2 separate regions of the Homo sapiens genome follow, and region 2 is linked to region 1. The links are contacts of gene promoters, found by promoter capture Hi-C in human tissues and cell types (Jung and others, 2019). All regions are on one chromosome and are shown on one strand. The core of a region is centred on a gene start or on the middle of the fragment in contact, and the rest is flanking DNA. Distances in the headings are between cores, read along the strand shown.

Evidence for each region. Contacts are between HindIII fragments. The study calls those that stand out against the background at their distance.
Region 2: a contact is called between a fragment that was not itself captured here and the fragment with the promoter of TBKBP1 in region 1, in 1 of the 25 tissues and cell types used here (IMR-90 fibroblasts).

The regions. Positions count from the first base shown.
Region 1 is chr17:47,691,649-47,695,410 of GRCh38, reverse strand. It overlaps TBKBP1 (TBK1 binding protein 1), which reads right to left and starts at 1,250. Exons shown (of 10, transcript NM_001394755.1): 1 at 1,217-1,250. RefSeq lists enhancers at 1-134, 135-814, 815-1,495 and silencers at 592-651, 902-1,031. The HindIII fragment of the contact is 16,798 bases long and covers 1-3,762 here.
Region 2 is chr17:47,875,691-47,879,452 of GRCh38, reverse strand. It overlaps a transcript of SP6 not described here. Among named protein-coding and RNA genes, the nearest start is that of SP2-DT, 18 kb to the left of the region's middle. RefSeq lists a cis regulatory region at 1,368-1,945. The HindIII fragment of the contact is 3,905 bases long and covers 1-3,202 here.

The sequences.
Region 1 (3,762 bases), core at 1-2,500:
CCAGGTGGAAGGGGACGCGAACGAATTCCCAAGGCTGTCTCAGGGTGCCCGCGCACCGGGAAATGGGGAACCCTACGAGGGGGCAGGAATGACTCAGGCTCCCGAAAGCAGGAGTAGGCAGTGAGGGGGTGCGTGTGTACTTCTCTCGGGCCTGGTTATGAATGTGTGTCTGGGGTTGGCGTATGGGGGGAGTGTGCGTCTGTGAATGAGTGTAGGTGTGTCAGTCAATGAGTGCCTTCGGGGTCGCAGGGGCGTCGGGACGGAGTGGGGCAGCGACCAGGAGGCTGGTGTGTGCACGCGTGCGTGAGCGCGTGGGCAGGGTGGCACGTCCGGGCCGCGTGTCACGTGAGACGCGAGGGGACTGTCCGAGGTGTGTGCGCGCGCTGGAGCGTTATGTGCACCCCGGAGAGGGGGCTCGGCAGGGAGCTGTGAGTTCAGACAGCGGGGCCCCCAGGTCGGGCTGCAGGAGCTTGGGGTGCAAAGGGCTCCGGCGCAGGCTCCAATTCAATCCACCCCCCCCCCTCCGCCACCCACAGGCCCATCTAAGTGCCAGGGAAACGCGAGTGACTGGGTCTGAGTAAGGAGTGTGTGCGCGCGTTTGTAGGGCCGGCCCCACCTTTAACCCTCTCCTTCCCACGCCATCCCCTCCCCCCAGCTCCGCGCGCCAGCGCTTACCACACCCCCCCAGACCCCCGCCCGCCCCTCTGCGCCCACCCCGCTGGCGGGGCTCTGTCCCCGAGGCCGCACCACAAATGCCTCCTTCCTCCGCATTCCTCTCTGGGCCCAGCGCCCGGGTGAGCGCAATGGAAGGCGGCTGGGGAAGGGGTGAGTGCCTCTGTCGGCCCGGGCCCCTCCTGCGGCCCCTTTAAGAGCCGCCCTTTAAACCCCTTTCGCTCGGCCGACAGAAATTGTCGCCCCTCCCCTCTCGGGGGCCGAGACCACGCAGCCCCCTCCCCCACAACCGGCCGAGCCCTGGGCCCCCGGACACCCTCTCGGGGCCGGGGAAGGGGCTCCGGGAGTGGCGCGGCCTGAGGAACGGCGGCGGAGGGGGACGCGAGGGGATGAGGGCGGCCGACACCGGACCCCTTCCCTCCCAGCCATCCCGTGCGGCTGCCAGCCGCCCTCCTGCCGCCTCCTCCTGCCCACCCCGCGACCCCTGGGGCCCAGCCCGGGCGCCGCTCCCCTCCCCCAGCCCTAGCCCCAGCCGGGGACTCACAGCTGCTGCCGGTTCCTGCTTGTAATCGCAGCTTACCCCCTCCGCCTGCTCCCTCCCCAAACGGGCACCAGTGCCCCCACCCCCCTGGTACCGCGCTCTGCTCCTCGCCCTGTCGCCGCCGCCGGGTCTCTCCCCACCCCCCACCCCTCCCCCCAACCCCCTCCCTCCCGTCCGCCCCGCTCCTCCTCCGCCGCCGCCGCCTCCTCCGCCTCCTCCTCCCCGGCTGCTCCGGGTTTCTCCAGCTGGGAAGGCGCCCCGGACCCCGCCGCTGCCACCACCACGTGGCGAGAGGCGGCGGCCCCTACGGTGCGGCCCTTCCTGGCAGCGCGCCCGGAGCCCACCGGCTCCCTGCGGCGCCAGCGGCCCGCGCTGGCGCCCCCTCCCCGACGCCTCCCGGCGCAGTGTGGCGTGGTGGCGTGTGTTGGGGGCGTCTGCGGTCAGTGCAGGGGCCCGGCTGATGCTTTGGTTGTTTTGGTTGTTTAGTTATGGGCTGTATATTTGGGGAGGAAGTGGGGCTATTTATCTGGCTTTTTTTTTTTTTTTTTGGTCTTTGCGCTTTTGAGAAGGAAATCATTAGACCTGCTCTTCGTTGCTCTTGGTAAAAGGGGCATTGCTGCGATAAATACATTGAACATAGGGTACAGAGAGATTAAAGCTGTAACTTCTTTGGAAGTGAGAGTAAACTAAGGAGGTCAAAGATTCATTCATGAAGAAGGACAGCCATCTCCCTCCCCACACACCACTCCCCGGCCACCCTCAAGTACCCACAGGTCAGGGAAATGAAGAAACAACAGATGTCACCCTGTGCACAAAGATTATTTGAGCACCTGCCAAACTGCTGGGCAAGAGAAACAAGTTTTTTGCTACTTTCCTGCTGTGTGACCTTGGGCAAGTTACCTTAACCTTTCTAAGCTGGAGATCATGCCCCACCTAAGCACTCTCATGGAGGAAGAATGGGGATCAGAACTAAATACAGCAGCCTGCGAATGCTCAGGAAGTGTTAACGATGTCATTTTGAGTATTGCCTGGTGGATTAAATAATGTGGACAGAGGCATGGTCAGCCTAGCTGCAGGTAGAGAATGATCAGGGGAACCCTGGAGCACTCTGGCTGAAGAGCATCCTCTGTGGACAGGGAGGCAAAGCCCGGAAGCAGGGGATAAGCTGGGCGGGGGCTTTTGGCAGATTCAGCCTTAGCTGCGAAGACTGCTGGGAACCTGAGCCTACCTTTTTGGCTCCTGAGGTGGGATGGGGGTGGGAATCTCCGAGGGGGAGGATGGAAGGAAAAGGTTTCTTGCTCTCTCTGAGCTTTGAAAAGCAGCAGCTGCCATCTTTCCTCACTGCTGGGAGAAAATTGGACTGAGAGGTGAGCTTCTACCAGGAGAGCCAGCCAGAGCTCTAGACTCATTCTCTTCATAGAAGGGGGGATTCTCAGTGGCTTCCTTCCTCCTCCTCCTGCTGGGTTCCCTTTCAGTCTTTCCTGCCAGCACTGGCTCCCGTTTGTAGTCCAGAACAGGAAGGCAGGTCAGCCACTTGTTCTCTGAGGCACTAGCTTTCTCTGAACCATGTGGGATGACCTATCTACCCTCTAGATATGAAGGCAAACCAGTGGGGACATCTGTCACCCCACTAATCCCAAGGGCTAGGCAGATGTTCCTTTCCCTAGTACTCCCCAAGATCTCTTCTGAAGCAAGGGACCAGGCAAAAGATTGGAGGCTAGACTAGGAGGTGTAGGGTTGTCTCTGGGACCCTCGGTGACCTTGGACTTGGCCACAAACAGGACCCATAAGACCAACTGGCAAGCCCTCCCTCACTGGAAAAAGGGGTCCCAGGACCCTCTAAGCACACACTGTCTGGGATGAGTCATCAGCCCCCTGCTGCTGCTTGGATGCTCAGGGCCTAATTGAGTCACCTGGCAGGGTGCAGCCAAATGCTTCTATCCTTGGTTCTAGGTGGTTGGTGGCAAAAGTCCATTAGGCCTGGTTTAGGTGCCCTAAAATCCTCCCCCTCCCCCAATCTGGACCTGATCTCATTGCATTCTCCATTTCTAGTTCTGCTGCTCATACCAGGCAGTTCTGAGAGCAGAGATTATATCCCATCCATCCTTGTATTCTAAGGTGCCCTGAGGGTTGGTACCTGCTCGTTGTATATTTATTCGGCAAAGATTTCTTGAACATCTATTATGTGCTGGGTGCTGAGAATACAGTGCTGAACATGTCTCTGACAGGTATACATGTCTCTTGCTCTCTTAGAGCTTGCAGTATGGTAGAGAAGTCAGAAAAATAAAAAGATGAATAAGTAAAACCACTAGAAATTGTGATAAAGGACCAGGCACAGTGGCTCATGCCTGTAATCCCAGCACTTTGTGGGGCTGAGGCAGGCAGATCACCTGAGGTCAGGACTTTGAGACCAGCCTGACCAACATGGTGAAACCCGTCTCTACTAAACATGCAAAAATTAGCCAGGCATGACGGTGGGTCCCTGTAATCCCAGCTACTCGGGAGGCTGAGGCAGAAGAATTGCTTGAACCCAGGAGGTAGAGGTTGCA
Region 2 (3,762 bases), core at 1-2,500, 180 kb before region 1:
CAAAAAGAATGGGAATTCTTTCCCTTATGCTTCCATGTTTCCCTGACTTCCTTTGGGTGATCTGTCTACTTGTGAAAATCTTTCCTGAGCGGAAAGGTGGATGGACCTCCCCTCTGCCACCTCCTCCCCTGCCAGCAGTCAGCTTCCTGTGCTCAGTGCAGGGAGCAGATCTAGAGGAGACCCTGTCAGGGAGCAGTGGTTAGATAGGGGAGGCGTAGTTCTTGACCACAGAGATGTCTCAGCCTGAGTGGGAAGACAGAATACATCCCTGATTCATCAGCAGAGACCAGAAACAAGGGCAGACAGCAACTGAATGGAATTATTGAGGTAGTGCTGGGAGAATGGGAAGAAGATACAGGGAAGGGGCTGAGTGGAGTTATTGGGGGAAAGCTTTCTAGAGGAGAATCTGAAATTGATTTGGCAGGGGATTGGGGGAGAGGCTAGTAAATGCCATTTACCCCCAAACTATGCCCATTCACCGGAGGAAGAAACCACCTAGGACTTCACTGTAAATCTGAGCCAGGATTGCAAATCACCCCCTTTTCCCCAGGCTCGGGTTGTGTGCTCAGATAAGGTGCCAACAATGGGGCGGGGCCATGGGAGGGGGAAACATGGGCTCCCTGGCCCATGGATGACCCAAAGTCGCTTAAATGAAAAAGAGAGGGGCGAGTTGAGCAGGTCCCAGTCTGGGTCTGGCCACTGTGAGTCAGGAAGCCGGGCAGTCTGATCCCATGAGCCAAATCCCTGAATCTCTGGGGCTTTAAAGGCTCTGAGTGTCCGGCCTCAAAGCCACCGACAGGTATGGATCTGCCCCCTCCCTGACCCCCTCTGCTTTCTGCCCTTTTGGTGCTCTCTGACCTCTGACCCTGGGGCCCAAGGAACCCATTCTGTCTGTAAGGCTGAGTTCAGTTCTGTCCCCATGCAGAGATTTGGGGTAGACCCAGGTAAAGATGGCAGAATGAAGGGGTGCTGGCAGACAGACACAGGGCAGGGAGAGGGAACTGAAGGAATCAGGGAAGTCAGAGAGCCCATGTTTCCCAGCTGATGGGAGGCGGGGCAATTCCTGGTGGCCCCTCCAGCAGGCACAGTGAAATTTAACCCTTCATTGGAGGGTGGCAGGAGGAGGTTTGTGAAAGTGTGGATGGGTAAGGAGACGGTGGAGGTGGAGAAAATGGAGCAATTAAGATGGGTCCCCAAAGACCCCTTTATTTGAGTGCTAATTGCTGTTAGAGGAAGTAAATTTGAAGGAAGTATCAGGAGGCAGCACCCTTCAGCTCTGGGTCTGACCCCTTAGGGACATCATGGGGTCCCCCATCAATCCCTGCTCTGGATAGACCCAAGTCGGGGCAGCCCAGGGTGTCTCTTCAGGGACTTCAAAGGCCTTGACTTAAGAAGTCTTCTCAAGGGGAAGGACACCCTGTTTTGTTGGGGGAGAGAGAGAGAGGGTGTCTATTGAGCCTCTGGACACTCTCCTCTAGCCCATGGGAACTGGCACTGCCTGACCACCTAGGGGAGGCTTGGAGCCTGGCTGAGCCCCAGTCTTAGGAGGGAGGGAAGAGGGTGGCGAGGGAGTGGGATGTCTCTTCCGCCTGGTAGATTAGTGACTCTGAGACAGGAGAGGGCCTGTCACCGGGCCCATAAATAAAGCAGCCGAGTCTCTCCCTCCATCTGTGTTTATCTGTCTGGCCTTGAGTTTCCGGGAGAGGAGATGTCTCGGCACCCCCAGCATCAAACACCAAGCGCTGGAGGGGAGGAGGGGCAGTCTCCCTCCCTTCGCCTTCCCTCTCAACCTCTATTCCTGCTTCCTCAAATCTCATCCTCTGAGGCCCTCCCTCTTCAGCCTAGACACTGACTCCAGGAAGCCCTCTGAGACCAGGGGGTCGGGGCTACAGAGTGGGGAGTGTGGTCTGGGGTCTCTGCCACCTTTTCCCATTAGTGCCCACCCTTTGTAGACTGAGGAGAAGGTGCCTTGGGGCCCAGAGAGAAATGAAAGGTGGGAATCAACAGGGTGCTGGGAGGCCTCTGTGGAAGACCCTCTGATCCCAGGGAAGGGTCCAGGGAAGCCCCCAAGTGATGGTGAAGGGCCAGGGGGGACCTGCAGGCAGAGAGAGCCTGGTGGATCCCCAGCCCCTCTCAGGGCATGGCAGGCCATGAGGAGAAGACCCTGCCTGTCACCTCCTATCCTGGCTAACTCTTCTTGACAACACCCTCCCTCCCTCCCTCTTTCTACCTCCGTGGATCCCTGAAACTCCAGGCTGTTCTTAGAACCCAGGACCTGCCACCAGGGCTTTTCAAAGTGTGGTCACCAGACCACCTACAGCTACATCACTGGGAAGGGGAAGGGGAAATGCTTGTTTCTTTTTTTTTTTTTTTGTTTTGAGACAGAGTCTTGCTCTGTAACCCAGGCTGGAGTGCAGTGGCACGATCTTGGCTCACTGCAAGCTCCGCCTCCTGGGTTCATGCCATTCTCCTGCCTCAGCCTCCCAAGTAGCTGGGACTACAGGTGCCCGCCACCACGCCTGGCTAATTTTTTGTATTTTTAGTAGAGATGGGGTTTCACCGTGTTAGCCGGGATGGTCTCAATCTCCTGACCTCGTGATCCGCCTGCCTTCGGCCTCCCAAAGTGCTGGGATTACAGGCATGATCCACCGCGCCCAGCCGGGGAAATGCTTGTTTCAGTGCAGATTCCTGGGCCCCCATAGACTCACTGGATCAACAGAGGCTTGAGGACTTGGGTTTTTGTTTTCTTTTCTTTTTTTTTTTTTTTTTTTGAGACAGAATTTCACTCTTGTTGCTTAGGCTGGAGTGCAATGGTGCGATCTCGGCTCACTGCAACCTCCACTTCCTGGGTTCAGGCAATTCTCCTGCCTCAGCTTCCCAAATAGTTAGGATTACAGGCATGTGCCACCACACCTGGCTAATTTTTGTATTTTTAGTAGAGACGGGGTTTCGCCATGTTGACGAGGCTGGTCTCAAACTACTGACCTCAGGTGATCTGCCCACCTCGGCCACCCAAAGTGCTGGGATTACAGGCGTGAGCCACCGCGCCCAGCTGAGGACTTGGGTTTTAATGGTCATCCATGGTAATGCGGGTGTAATTCAAGTTTGAGAAACACCTATTTTCCTACATGAAGCCAGCCACTCTTGTTCACCCCATCCCCACTGCTGAGCTCGGGGCCCAGGACATAGTAAGTGTTCAATAAACATCCATTGATTGAATGCATTTCTAGACAGTGTCTATTCCTTTTTTCACTCCAGGTCTTCTTCTCTTCTTCAACCACCTCGAATCTACCAGAGGATCCCAAGTCCCTGTTTTCTGCTAAGGTGATAATTCCAGAATATGTCAGCCAGACCCACAGTGACACATGTCTTTAAACAGAACATGGTACTCACAGAAACACTCTAATGGTAGGGTTTTTTGGCAACAGGGCAGGTTAGTGGGGAGCTCACTGTGACAGGGGAGGCTCCTCAGTTCTTCTCAGAGTCCACAGGAACCACCTGCTTCACTCACCCTCAGGGAATGATGGTGGGGTGCAGGGCTCCTGTGCTGAGGGCAAGGAGTGTCAGGACCCAGGGAAGGGGAAGATCAGAGAGAAGGAAAAAGATCGAAAGTGTGTGAAAGAAGAGCCACAGTTAAAGGAGGTCTAAGGGCAAAAGGAGAGCACTGTTACACAACTCAGGTCAGTGGCCCTGGAAAGTTTTCAGAGAATCAGGCATCCCAGCCAGGAATGCACAAGCAAGGAATGCACTTCTCTCCACCCT